Regions from separate parts of the Homo sapiens genome. Here region 2 is linked to region 1. The links are contacts of gene promoters, found by promoter capture Hi-C in blood cells and fetal thymus (Javierre and others, 2016). All regions are on one chromosome and are shown on one strand. The core of a region is centred on a gene start or on the middle of the fragment in contact, and the rest is flanking DNA. Distances in the headings are between cores, read along the strand shown. Region 1 holds the start of TMCC2-AS1 (TMCC2 antisense RNA 1). Region 2 overlaps CDK18 (cyclin dependent kinase 18).

Region 1 (6,795 bases), core at 3,616-6,115:
GATTCATTTGTCCTTATTGCCCAGCCTTTTGCTGCTAACAGATTCCCTGCTTGTTGGGAGGAGATGCTGGGGTTGCTAAGCCACAGAGAGTGCTGGCTGACCAAAAGTACACCACAATTCTACAGCAAGAAAACCCAGTTCCATTGCATATGGGAGGAGAGGTGGGGCTTAGGGGAATACTGCAGACAGGGAGCACACATTCCTGCTAAGAATACAGCATACGGGCCGGGAGCGGTGGGTGGCTCATGCCAGTAATCCCAGCACTTTGGTAGGCCGAGGTTGGTGGATCACTTGAGGCCAGGAGTTTGAGACCATCCTGGCCAACATGGTAAAATCCTGTCTCTACTAAAAATACAAAAATTAGCCAAGTGCAGTGGCACACACCTGTAGTCCCAGCTACTTGGGAGACTGAGGTGGGAGGATCGCCTGAGCCCAGGAGGTTGAAGCTGCAGTGAGCCATGATCATGCCATTGCACTCCAGCCTGGGCTACAGAGCAAGACCCTATCTCAAAAAAAAAAAAAAAAAAAAAAAAAACACAAAAAAACACACACACAAAAAACAACAACCGAAAAAAAAAAAAAAAACCACAACGTGTGGTAGATACTTCTGAGGCCCAGGATGAGTGGCCAAGCATAAGAGTGAGCTGGTTCTATCCTGATATGTGATGGAAGTCTGAAGGCACGGGAGGAAATTACCAACCTCCCCACCTCTCTCACAGTGGGAAGAATTGAGTCTTTCCTGAAAGGAGGTGTCTGGGGATGCTGGCCATGGGCTTTCCCCCTGGACTTCCCCTAAGGTTCTCTTTCCTCTCACAAAAGCCCCTTTAAGTAATTTCCCTGGAGATTTCTGAGCAGTATTAATATATTTCCCTGAAGAAAAAGGGGGAGCTCCAAATTCCATCATTCCCCTCCTGGTTTGAAGCACTTTTGACTCAAGACTCATTTGGGTTCCAGTTCATGTTCCAGTCACACCATACACTGGTCTTCCTGCCTACTTAGTGAAGAGCAGGAAAGATAATTCGAAGCCAGATATCTGAGAGAAAGTCACAACTGAGTCCTGTGTGGTTCTCCCTGCTGGCTCTCCGCCTTTCCTGGTGGTCACAGGCAGCTTCCTCCCACTGTGAGTGGCGTGTGTTCCTTCACCACTCCTGCAGAGAGCCCACTAGAGAAGGGTTCATGCAGTCAGCAGATACCACCTTCAGCAGGAAAGGTGCTGCTGAATTAAATTGTGAAACATGCTTATAAAAGTGCCTGAAAACATGTACGCAGTTTAAATAACAGAAGCAAAGCAGACACCTCATCTACCCAAGTCAAGGAAAAAAAAAAACTGACATTCCCGAGAAGCACCTGCTTGTTTTCTATTTGTTTATTTCTTATATATATATTTTTTCAAGGCTCAGGGTTTTGATAAAATTTATAGGTCTCAGTTTCTCCTTTTTTTTTTAAAGGGTAGTCAAATGAAGCAGTGAGAGTGGAGAGTTTCTTCATTTTTTAAATGAAGGAGAAGACAAGCTACTTCATAAGAACGTAGGTGGAATGAAGATATGTACGTTCCCTGGGGCTCTCCAGGAGTGTTGTGATGGTTGCGATGGCTCTCTGAGGGCCTGCTGCATCTTGAGGCCCAGTAGATATGTTAAGGCTTGAAGATTCCTGCAATCTCAGGTGGGAGCCGGACGCCTGGGATAAGTTTTATCAGAGGAGGTAGAATTGAAGTATACCTAAAAACAAGGACATGGGAGGCCAGGCGTGGTGGCTCACACCTGTAATCCTAGCACTTTGGGAGGCCGAGATGGGTGGATCATGAGGTCAGGAGATCAAGACCATCCTGGCTAACACAGTGAAACCCCATCTCTACCAAAAATACAGAAAAATTAGCCAGGCATGGTGGCGGGCACCTGTAGTCCCAGCTACTCTGGAGGCTGAGGCAGGAGAATTGCTTGAACCTGGGAGGCGGAGGTTGCAGTGAGCCGAGATCGTGCCACTGCACTCCAGCCTGGGCGACAGAGCGAGACTCTGTCTCAAAAATAAAAAACAAAACAAACAAACAAAAAGGAAATGGGAAATTAGTTATTTGGCCTCACCTCCAGCTGATCTCCAGGTCAAATAGGATGAAATACTTCTAAGAAAACCATCATGGAAATACATAGAAGTTAAAGGGTACTTAGAGCATCATGCAGTGCAATCAGAAACTTATGGGGGTTAATCAGGAAAGTTGTTCTGCAAGAGGTGGGTTTAGAGCAAGATTTTTTTTTTTGAGATGGAATCTCATTCTGTCTCAGGCTGGAGTGCAGTGGCGCAATCTTGGCTCACTGCAGCTTCTGCCTCCCGGGTTCAAGCGGTTCTCCTGTCTCAACCTCCCGAGTAGCTGGGACTATAGGCATGCACCACCAGACCGGGCTAATTTTCTATTTTGAGTAGAGATGGGGTTTCATCATGTTTGCCAGGCTGGTCTGAAACTCCTGACCTCAGGTGATCCACTCTCCTCGGCCTCCCAAAGTGCTGGGATTATAAGCGTGAGCCACTGCGCACGGCCTAGAGCAAGATTTTAAAGAAGGGGTGGGACATTTATTACCAAACAAGAGAAGAGGGGCTTTCTAAATGGGGGAAGTGAGGTAGCAAGTGCTTTTGTAGGGTCTTTGCCCTGTTTGACTAGAATGATCAGGAACAATGGAGGGTAGTGCAAATGCTGAAGTTAACTGTTTTGTCCCGCTTGCACCTTATATGAAGCAGGCAGAGGGTTGGAAGGCCCAGGATTGCCTCCCCCCCACCCCCTCCAGCCTAGGTAATATTCAGAGCAGCCCTCTATGTGGGCTCTGGGGGAACTGGTGACCGATGGGAAAGCATGTGGCAAACGAAACTCCCTGTTCTCCTGCCACATATTGAGTTCTAGATTAATTCCCAGCTGCCCTAGTTGTTCTAGTGGGAACTGTCTGGCAGGCTCAGTATTTACAGAATGTGCTTCTTTTTGTGTATCTAATTATGTCTTCACTGCCAATCCCATTAACAAGAATCTCCTTCAGCAAGGAGTTGAAATATCTGATAGGACCTAAATTTTGGGCTGAAGTTTTCAAAGTGTGGGGTTATCAGGAGCTGGGGAAAAGGGCTCAGGCAGCTTCTCAGTGGTGGTCTTAAAGGCCAACTCAGAACTCATTTCTGTTTTCATCTCTCCCTTAAGAAATGGCATCTGCCTTTGAAATCCCCATAGACTACTAGCATGCTACATTTTTGGAATGAGGCCATAGCTGGACAGGGTCCACCTTTGTCAGCCAAACACTTAAGTCTCTCTTCGTGTAAGAAGTTAGAACAAAGCTGTTGGGGGATAACAGGTATGTTTTGTGACTGTGCTAGAAAAACAGTTATTTGGCTGGGCGCGGTGGCTCACGCCTGTAATCCCAGCACTTTGGGAGGCCGAGGCAGGGGGGTCACGAGGTCAGGAGTTCGAGACCAGCCTGGCCAGCATGGTGAAACCCCGTCTCTACTAAAAATACAAAAAATTAGCCAGGCATGGTGGTGTGCCCGTATAGTCCTAGCTGCTCGGGAGGCTGAGGCAGGAGATTTGCTTGAACCCGGCAGGCAAAGGTTGCAGTGAACGGAGATCACGCCATTACACTCCAGCCTAGGCGACACAGCAGGACTCTGTCTCAAAAAAAAAAAAAAAAAAAGAACAGTTATTTTTAAACCAAATGACTAAAGGCTTCCTTATTCCAGCCAGGTTAACTGAGTGATGTCCACCAGGGAAAACAAATCTGGCTGTAAGGACATGAGCCCCCTCCCAAGCCCTCCCTAAGCCATTTGTGAAGACATCACATACATTCTGGCTCCTTGGTCTGTGTTCATCTCCTTCCAAGCCAACTCAATCTTGGCGGTTACTAAGATAATAGAGTGAGAAGAGGGTTTAAACTGCAGCAGGAGAAATCTGAGTTAGACACAAGAAAAGGCTGTTGGAGCATTTGAAATCTTTGTGAAAGGTTATGTCTTTGGAAAAGGTAGTCATCTAAGGATTAAAATCACCTTTGTAAGATGGATTTGTAGAGACTTGGATAGTGGCTGCTCAGAAAATAAATGAACAAATAATTTACCTAGCTGTCTTCCATGTTGGTGTTGAGGCCTCTGCCAGGTAATGTTAGGGACACAGAGATGTAGGAGCTGTAGCTCCTGCTGTCCAGTCACTCATATTGTCATCAAGGGTTCCATCCGTCAGCAGGTGAGAAGTTGGATAACAGTCAGACAAAGCACTAGAAGCGATGTCACAAGGCAGTACACGATTAATTGCAAAATGAGTGGTGCAGATAATGAGCGCTTATGTGTTCAGAGCAGGGCGAGATCGCTGCAGACTGGTGTGATCAGAGAGGGCTTTATGGAGTGGCGAGGTGGTGAAGGATGGGTAGGATGCAAAGAGGCAGAGAGAGGGCACGCCATGCTGGGAACTTTAATAAAAGTCTTCTATGTTGGTGTGTGCTGAATCAGTTCTGCCTAAAGACATGGTGGATGAGGTGACCTTTTCCCACTTGCTTTGGCTCCAGGCTGAATTCTCTAAGCAATAAAGGAAAGAGGAATCAAAATAAAATTGAGAATGGGGGAATTTTTTGCCCGTGTGCCCATGAGTTGAGTTTTTTTTTTAAAATTTCATCTGTGAGGCTGGGGAATAAATAAATGATTCCAAAAATCTTTCATCACTGGGTTTCCAGTAGAAACTCCAAGTGGGCCTGAACAGTTGCAGCTGCCTACTGTACACCACTGTGATCATCAGCGCCAAACCTGGGGTAATGGTTCCTCTCCTGCTCCCACTCAGGCTCCCCACCCAGAGCTTCTTAAGGGCAATTGGAGACTTCTTCAATCCACTTTGGATCCTAAGAGTAGAACTCTGTGGGTTTTTACAGTGATTAGTTCTCTAATGCTGGCCCTGTTTCCATAGAGACCCTATAAATAGAGGAATGTTGGCGACCTAGGCTGGCAAAGGCTCAGGGTGACCCAGTCACCCCACTGAACCCTCACAGCCAAACTGTTGGTAGGGCGGAAGGAGTTTCAAACCCAGGTAGGAGGAAGGGCTATGCAGTCAGCTGCCAGGTGGGATAATTAGCTATAGATTAGTGTGACTTTAAGCTTTCCTGGGATTTGTTGAGAACACACGTACCTGTAAAAATTAGAAACCACTTTTGGTCATTTTTAACCAGATGGTGCCAATGACACTGTACCCCAAGGCATTTTAGTTTTGTATTCATGCAGCTGTGTTTGCAGATTTTGGAGCAAACTTCCCCTTTGGGGGACCCACACCCAGGGAGAAAGACGGATGAAGCCCAACTGTTCAGAAACCACAGCCTTCTCAGGAAGGATCTTTCAGAAGCCATCTAGTCCTCCCTTTTTTCCTGAAAGGACAGTGCCACCCAAGGAGATGGGGCTCTTCCTGCCCTTTCAGATAGTTCCAGGGGAGGGACAGCCAACTCCCCTCACTTCCTTCCCCGGGGCACCTCACCCTGGGAGGCTCTCCTTTCTGACTACCTTATGGCCAGTTCTGGGGACGGCACTTCTTGCTTCGGTCTTACAGATCATGAAAGCCCTGTTTGTTTGCCACCTCTAACTCTGAAGCATCTCAGCTCTCTAATGCATGGCTTCATTTGGCCACCAAAATGGTTTCTGGCAGCCAGGGAAAAGCAAAAGTCAATGTGGAAAAGCAAGTGACATTTTAGGAGCTGGAACCTGTTAGTCAGAGCAGGTGGTGCTTTCTGCTGCGTTGGCGGCTAAGTTCCCTTAAGCTAGTCACCATGGTTTTCCTCACTTCTGAAACTTGTAGCTGGTTATGTGTATGTGCTGAGTTTTTTTTTTTTAAAACACTTACTGTGTTATGTCAAAACTCCTTAACCATCTCCTCCCTGACACCCACATGCAGAAGCGGCCCAGCCCTTGCGTCACTTTGCTGTTCCCGCCTCGCACCTTATCAGTGAGGAAAAACCCCTTCATTTGGAGTAATCTCCTCTCTCTGCACCTTGTTCTTTGACTTCCTTTTTGTTATTTCCCTCCTGCCTGCCTCAGACTTTAATAGATTCCTCGGTCTGCTGGGACAAAGGTCCTGGGGTCTCCTGGTCACTTTCCCTAGGTTTCCTTCAGCTGCAGGACAGCTCAGGGAGGTGGGAAGTAAAGACTTTATAGTTGAGGGTCTTGTCCCATAACATGGGATGGGCAGGTCACAACAGCAGTTCAGGGGACCTAACAACCCTTGACCCAGGCATTTTTGTTTGGCGCCTGCCTCTGATACTATTCTGGGACACATGCAAATACCCTATCTACTTTAAATCTTAAGTCTTGAAATCAGTGTATGGGCCCATGAAGGTAAATTCAATTAGAAGTCGGGGGTTTCTCTGTGTGGCTTGGATGAGCCACTTAGCTATGCTGTGCCTCCGTTTCTTCATCTGCAAAATAGACACTGATGCTGTGACATCTCACATTCCTAGCTCCTGAGATTAGGCTAGTGTCAGATTATAATGACAGTATAAATCGGAACGCACTTTGCAAAATGCTGTTGTATAAATTTTAAAAGTAAATTGACCAAGGATTTTAGGCTCCAAGGCAATATGGCAGACATCGGTGGCCACCGTAGCTCTCCCCAGCACCTCCACCAGCCTCCCGGGGATAGGGGAGAGGAAATGCCTCAGAACTCTAGGACCTCTGCTGAAGTCTTTAGAAGGGAAACTCTTTCTGCCTGAGTGGATCCTCAGTGTTGGAGAAGCCAGTTTAGGAATGGGGGGAGAAGAGGAAGGGACCTGGAATAGAACGCTAGAAAGACAATTCGTATTATGG
Region 2 (7,077 bases), core at 4,578-7,077, 290 kb after region 1:
CAAAAAGAGGGACTTGGGGATGCATCTAACATGTGCCTGGAACACAGCAGGTGCTCCACATGTGCCTGTAAAGCAGACACATGCCTGCTGTATGCCACCAGCACCAGGCATAGAGACCAACGTGCTCCAGATGAGGGAGACAGGTGAAAAGTCACGCCCCATTGAAGGAGGGGCACCTGGTGGTCCTGGGGGTGGGGTGGAGTGAGTTCCAGGAAGCTCCTGAAGGCCCCAGAGACTTGTACAGCATGCAGGGGCAATGAAGAGGGGCAAAGCCAGAGACGAAGGGGCCCCAGATCTTGAAGGGCCTTTGGGTGCAGGCTGGGGAATCGGGGCTTTGTTCAAGAGGAAGGCAAAGAGGCTTCTTGAAGGGGTTTGCTGAGAGAAGACTCCAGTCCTGGCCCCAGGAGCTTGAGAAGTGAAGCTGACTTTCCCGCCCTCCAGTCTACAGCATCCCAGATTCCTGGGATGCTCTGTCAACCTCCTTCTCCACCTCCATGGTCTCCAGGTCAAGGTCTCTCAGGGGTCCAGCCCCAAGGCAGGTATTAGGTCTGTGGCCTGGCACAGGTTGTCCCAGCAGTCAGTGGGCTGGGAATCTGCCCTGTCTGGACACTGGGGCCCTGGGGCTGGCCTGGCCTGCTCTGTGGAGCTTTCTTTCCTCCTAAGAGAGAAGATGGGGCTTGTCTGCCAGTAGCCGGGGTTCCCTGCCTTGCACGGGCCCCACCCTGCGTGGCCCTGCAGTTGTCTAAGTAGGGGGGACCCTGCCTCCCTGGCCCTTCTCCCCCTCACATCTGCCAAGAGATGATCCTGCTCCCTGTCTCCTGGCCCTCTTCCATCCTGGGATCCAAAAGCACCTTGCAATAAGGAAGTCTGCAGGGATGTTTGATGAAGTTTATATGAGGACTCTTTTTGTCTGGGCAGTAGCTTGAGAGAGGAGAGCCAAGCTTTGCTGGACATCTTCCCTGTGCCAGTGGTGTGTTGTGTTGGCTCACCCAGCATGTTTGCTCAGATACCACTGTACGTTGAAAATGTCACCTGCCCAACATCCAACTCCTGGTCTTCCCACTGAAACCACTACTCCCAGAATGCCTTGTCTCCTCCAGTGACTGTTCTATCTCTCCACTCCGGCTGCTTGGCGAAAACCCTGCTGCAGAGTCATGCTTGACTCTTTTCTCACCCACAACATACAATCCATCTGCAGAGCTCTTTGCCTCCACCTTCAAAATATAGCCCAAATCCAGCCACTTCTCACCATCTCCACTGCCCCCCGCTGGTCCCAGCCACCATCAAGCTCTCTCCCCTGGGCCTCAGCAGCAGCCTCCTGCCCGGGCTCCCTGCTCTCCCCTTGCTCCCCTTGTCTGTTCTCAACACAGCAGCGTGTTAAAGCCTCAGTGTGATCATGTCACTCATCCGTTCAAACCCTCCTTACCCCTCGAGGCCCAACACAGCTGCTCCGCACTCCCATCCAGCATCTTCTCCAGCCACATCATTGTCCTGCAGTGAACCAGACTTACTTCTGCCTCAGGACCTTTGCCCCTGCTGTTCCCTTGTTGACCTGCTTCTCCCAGACCCTGCATGACTGACCCCCTCACCTTACACCTACTCTGGATTTCTCCTGAGATGTCACCTGCTTCTTGGGGAGGCCTTCTTGACCACCCTACTTAAACTTGCAACTGCACTTCCCACACCTTCCCTCTTCCCTGCATGAATTCCCATCATTGCACTTGTCACCATCCATCATACTGTGTATTCATTCTGTCTATTGTCCGCACCCCCCTACCCCTGTTAGAAAGTATTAGGAAAGGAATTAATGTCTGTTTCATTCATCTGTGGATTCTCAGGGTCTACAACAGTGCCTGGCATGCAGCAGGTGTTCAATAATTGTTGAATGAATGAATGGAGCCAGGGGTGAGAGGGGTTTTATCACGTCATTGCGATTCCATAGCCTGCTAGTGGTAGCACCAAAGTTTGAAACTGAGTTTGTTTGGCACGCAGTTCAGAGTAGGAGAAAACAGTCAAGCCTGGGCCACAGGGAAGGGGCAAGGGCGGGGAGGGCTCCAGGTAGGAGAAGAAAGGAGCAATATGGTCACGTTTGTGCACTTGGCAACAACCAGGAAATTGCTGCGTGATTCTGGGCAAGCCATTTCCCCTCTTGGATGTTCAGCATCTTCACTGGGCAAGGGATGGGGATGGAGGCTGTGTGAGCGTCTTCCCCTGCTAACATTCTGGGAGGCCAGCCCTGCTCACTGGGGGCACAGTGGCCTCTGGCAAGTGCTGGCTTTCTTCCCAGCCTGGCTCCTCCTTCCTCCTTCTGTGCCACCCATGGCTCTGGCACCAGCAGGAGGTTCTGGGCCGGCTGCTGTGTCCCTGGGAAGAAGCAACTGGAGCTGGCTGAGCTTTATGACTTACCTGGGCAGGGAGGTGGGAGGGGAGGTTGGCTGGGGTCTGCCTGCCCACCCTGCAGCTCCTCAGTGGGACTCTGCTCCTTCAACTTCCTCCACCCCCCACTGCCGGGCCAGTATCCCTGGACACTCATCGCCCTCTTCCCCTGGCACCAATTGCACGGGGACAGCCCCAGATGGCTCCTTGGTCTGGGGACAAAGGCTGTGCTGTGCCTGGCCCCGGGCTGGCCTCAGGCTGGTCATACTGAGCCCTTCTGTCCCCACTTGGGGGTGAGGGGTAGATAGCACTAAGGTGACAGGCCTTTTTCCTGTCTCCCTTCCCCCTCGACCCCCAAATCTGAGGAGCTGACTCTCCCAAGGGAAAAATGACAGAGGCATCTTGTGTCTTGACCTAGGGAACAACAGACTATTCACTGCCCAGTCTGCCCTGTCACACCCAAGACCCTGCTGGGTTCAATGCCCTGGTTGTCCCCAGCAGAGAGAGACATCCACTCTGCTGTGGTCACCACCCCCACCGCCTGCTCCCCTGTCACCATCAGGAAGTCCACCCTACATCTGACCTCCATCCTTCCATCAGGAAGTCCATCCTACATCTGACCTCCATCCTTCCATCAGGAAATCCATCCTACATCTGACCCCCATCCCTTCTGCTGCTGTGACAGCCACTTCCTCTCAGGCTCCTGTCCTGCGGGTGGAGAACAGCTGGTCCCCATCGCCTGCACTGCTTGGCCCCACATTCCTGCTCCAGTCAGCTGCCTCTGGCCTCACCCTTCCTCCAGCTCCCAGCCCCACTGTCCTCCCCACCCCAGGCACAGGCTGGTGGCTCCTTGCTCCTCACTGAACCTTAGGGAGAGCAGGTGTGACTCAGGGCTGAATCTCTTTTGTCTTGCAGAAATGGGGGGCCTCCTTCCCGGAGGCTTTTAATGAGCTCCCCTCCCCTCACCCTACAAGCAAGAGCAAGGGTGTGAGATTTATGGTTGCTACTTGTAGATTCCTGAGCCGCAAATCCAACATGCCATCCCATAAATCCCAGACTGCAGGACGGTTTTATGGGGAAGCCCTGTTTTTAGAAAGGGGTGTGGCTGGTCTCCCTCCTGGCAGAGCTCAGACCTCAGGGAGCCAAGTGCCTGCCTCTCCCCACCCCCAGAGAACAACCATGACAAAGCACGGGGACATTGGGGACATCAGTTGGTGTGGTGGAGATGCACTGGCTTCCAGGACAGAGAGACTTCCTCTCCTGTGGGGGGCCTCCTGCTTCCCTTCCCTGCTCTGAGGATCCCCCGTCTCAGCACAGGAGGGTGGCCTGGAAGCCTGGGCAGATAATTGTCCCTGACCTGGACCTTAGATGTTTTCCTGGTCACCGCTCCAGGTGTACATCATTGGAGATGTTTTTTCAAATGCATTTTCCCAGGCACCATTCTCAGAACCTCAGTTCCAGAATCTCAGGGTGAGACCTAGGAATCTGAATTTTTTTACAATGCTCCCTGGTGATTCTGATGTTCAGCTATCTTTGAAAATAATTGGCTGAGTGCTGTGGCTCATGCCTGTAATCCCAGCACTTTGGGAGGCCGAGGAGGGGCAGATCACTTGAGGTCAGGAGTTCGAGACCAGCCTGGCCAACATGGCGAAATCCTGTCTCTACTGAAAACACAAAAATTAGCCGGGTGTGGTGGCGCGGGCCTGTAATCCCAGCTACTCAGGAGGCTGAGGCATGAGAATCGCTTGAGCCCGGAAGGTGGAGGTTGCAGTGAGCCAAGATCACGCCACTGCACTCCAGCTTGGGTGATAGAGCACGACTCTATCTCAAAAAAAAAAAAAAGAAAAAAGGAAAAAAGAAAATAATTGATCTTTACAAGGAGCCATCTCCACTCTCCTATCTTGCTCGGAAATGGGAGTCACCAGGTAGGTGTGTCTGGGTCCTCTTGTCACTGGGACCCACACCCCCTGCCACCATCATGAAGCCTCCAGATTAGATCTCTGTGGCCTGAATGCTATACACAAGTGTGAGGCATGGTGGCTGCCCTCTGGAAGCTTCCTGTCTGCAAGAGTCCTGCAGACAGCAGGCCTGAGACATTGCACAGAGCCACGGAGGAGCGGCTGAAGATGACTGACAGGAAGGAGTTTAGGGATGGGGAGTCAGGAAAGTCCAAGGCTGGTGGGCTCTGCCAAGGAAGCCAGAGGAAGCGCTTTCAGCTACCTTCTCATCAAAGGAGGCATCACCAGCCCCTGAGTTTCTTGAGAATGGGGACCACCCTTTACTTGCCTCTGAAACCCTCATGCCTGGCACAATGCTGGCGCATAGTAGGTGCTCAGTTTTTTGGTTTGTTTGTTTTTTAAGACAGAGTCTTGCTCTGTCGCCCAGGCAGGAGTGCAATGGCGCAATCTCCACTCACTGCAACCTCCGCCTCCAGGGTTCAAGCAATCCTCCTGCTTCAGCCTCCCAAGTAACTGGGATCACAGGTGCACACCACCATGCCCAGCTAATTTTTTTGTATTTTTAGTAGAGACAGGGTTTCGCCATGTTGGCCAGGCTGGTCTCAAACTCCTGACCTCAAGTAATGCACCTGCCTCAGCCTCCCAAAGTGCTGGGATTACAGGCATGAGCCACCATGCCCGGCCAGTTCATTTGTTCAGTGGAACTGAGTGAGACTTCAGGGCCCACTGACAGAGATGGGCCTGCCTAGCACTGCAGACCCGAGGCCTCCACTCTGAAAGGTGCCAGCCCGCTAAAGGAATGAAGGAGAGCTTGTTCATACCCAGCCATGAGGATCAGGGCAGCTGGAGGGCCACCACTGAGCTGTGTTTGGGGGCAGCCAGGAGCATGCGCTGCCAGACAGAGGACCCTTTCCAGGCTGGCTGAGGACAGAAGGATGTGATCATTAAGCAAAGCCAACATGTTACTGACCCATAATCCCTTAAACCAGGAGGATTCGGGAAGGGCCTGGTCGCCTTGGCAACTAGGTGCTGGCCAGTCGCAGGGCTGAGAGCATCCTCCAGGAGTGGGCTGTGCCTGGTGCTGGTGCATGGGTAACAGCTGGGAGCGGGTGCAGGGCGGCCCATCATAGGGCTCACCCCCTGGTGCCTTCTTGCCAGCATGGGTGGAAGCCCTTGTGAGGCCTCAAGGGCAGTGTGTGCAGAGCAGGATGAGAGGGGGGCTGCACTGAGCGTGTAGGAAACCATGAAGGGAAGTGGAGGGGAGGTGAGACAGCGCTGCTCTGGGTTTTCAGGGCAGGAGGGAGAAGGGAGGGTCTGCAGGAAGAAGCAGTTGCATGGGTCTCATTGGGTGGCCAGCAGGGCATCCTCTAATTCAGAGGGCACGAGGAGCTGGGTAGCCTGAAGAAGAAAGCTTTCATGGTTGGGGACAGGACCGTGGGGGTGGGCAGAGCAGCTTACCCCGCTCCTCCATGGTGTTCTCGGTAGGGGATACCTGCCTGCTTGGAGGGCTCTGGCATGGGAAGAGGCCTGCAGGGATCAAGCCTCATCTTCCCTAGGGCTCGACTCTATTAATGGCAAGCTTCCGTGTTTCCCCTGAGACCTTCCACTGCTCCTGACCTCCTGTATTTCAGCTGGAGAGAAGGTGCAGCTGGCCAGCTCTGATGCACTCTTCCCTTCCTCCTCTTTTTCCCCTCTTGCCTCCTGGGGCATGCCAGAGCAGAGACCTTCAGGTGTCAGTATCAGAGGTGAAATGAGGTTTGGACCCAATCATGTCCCAAGGGTGTTGGCCAAGCTGACATTCAGTTTACGGGCCTTGGTCAGTAAGATTTATTGGCTGTTGACACATTCAGGCCCTTGGACACAAGTTGGTAAATTTCTGCTGGTCCAAGGACTGCCTGGTTCTGGCACCCTCCCTGCCACCCCAGCCCTTCCCCCAGAACTCTCTAGACCTCCAGCAGCTAAAGGGCTTAGGTCTGGGGGGCCTTCAGGATCCTCTTTGCACATCATGCCTGCTATTATGACCAATACTTTGCTGGACTAGGTGGTCCATAGAGAACTGCACAGGGCGTGGCGGGGCGGGCGGTGGGCAGTGGAGGCAGTGCTGAGGGTCACTGGGAGGAAGAAGGTGACTGGGAAGAAGAGGGTGAACACCCACCCTCAGAGGGGTCAAACTTTGCAGAAGACACAACCCTGGCTCCCAGTGATGGTGGCATACAGGGCGACAGAGCTTGATGAGAGAGCTGAATTCCCAGTGGGTGGAGACCTGGACTGGTTGCCTTGTTCTTTTCAACTGCTCTTCTCACACTTCCCATCTCAGGACCCGGCTGCCCAGTCCCTCATGATCATGAACAAGATGAAGAACTTTAAGCGCCGTTTCTCCCTGTCAGTGCCCCGCACTGAGACCATTGAAGAATCCTTGGCTGAATTCACGGAGCAATTCAACCAGCTCCACAACCGGCGGAATGAGAGTGAGGGGTCTGGGCCCACCCAGCACCTCTCCCACCTACCAGACACTCCCCAGTCACCTTCCCCTCCCCGCCCACCCCCTCCCCACTGGCCTTAGGGGAGGAGCACAGCGCTGGGGGAGGGGGGCTACCCTTCTCTCCCTCAGGACAGAGAGGCAGGGAGGGGAGCTGACGCCTGTCCCTCTTAGACTTGCAGCTCGGTCCTCTTGGCAGAGACCCCCCGCAGGAGTGCAGCACCTTCTCCCCAACAGACAGCGGGGAGGAGCCGGGGCAGCTCT

Evidence for each region. The method cuts DNA at HindIII sites, captures the fragments that hold promoters and counts their contacts. A CHiCAGO score of 5 or more calls a contact.
Region 2: a fragment that was not itself captured here is called in contact with the fragment with the promoter of TMCC2-AS1 in region 1 in 2 of 17 cell types (naive B cells and total B cells); the score reaches 7.0 in naive B cells.

What each region holds. Positions count from the first base shown.
Region 1 is chr1:205,232,426-205,239,220 of GRCh38, forward strand. It overlaps TMCC2-AS1 (TMCC2 antisense RNA 1), which reads right to left and starts at 4,866. Exons shown (of 3, transcript NR_183258.1): 1 at 4,759-4,866; 2 at 4,080-4,533; 3 at 1,352-1,718. The region is part of intron 1 of TMCC2 (transmembrane and coiled-coil domain family 2); the gene reads left to right. The HindIII fragment of the contact is 7,142 bases long and covers 1-5,101 here.
Region 2 is chr1:205,516,496-205,523,572 of GRCh38, forward strand. CDK18 (cyclin dependent kinase 18) reads left to right here. Exons shown (of 16, transcript NM_212502.3): 2 at 6,652-6,802; 3 at 6,988-7,077. The coding sequence starts at 6,673. Among named protein-coding and RNA genes, the nearest start is that of CDK18, 15 kb to the left of the region's middle. RefSeq lists enhancers at 1,016-1,715, 4,931-5,756. The HindIII fragment of the contact is 168 bases long and covers 5,744-5,911 here.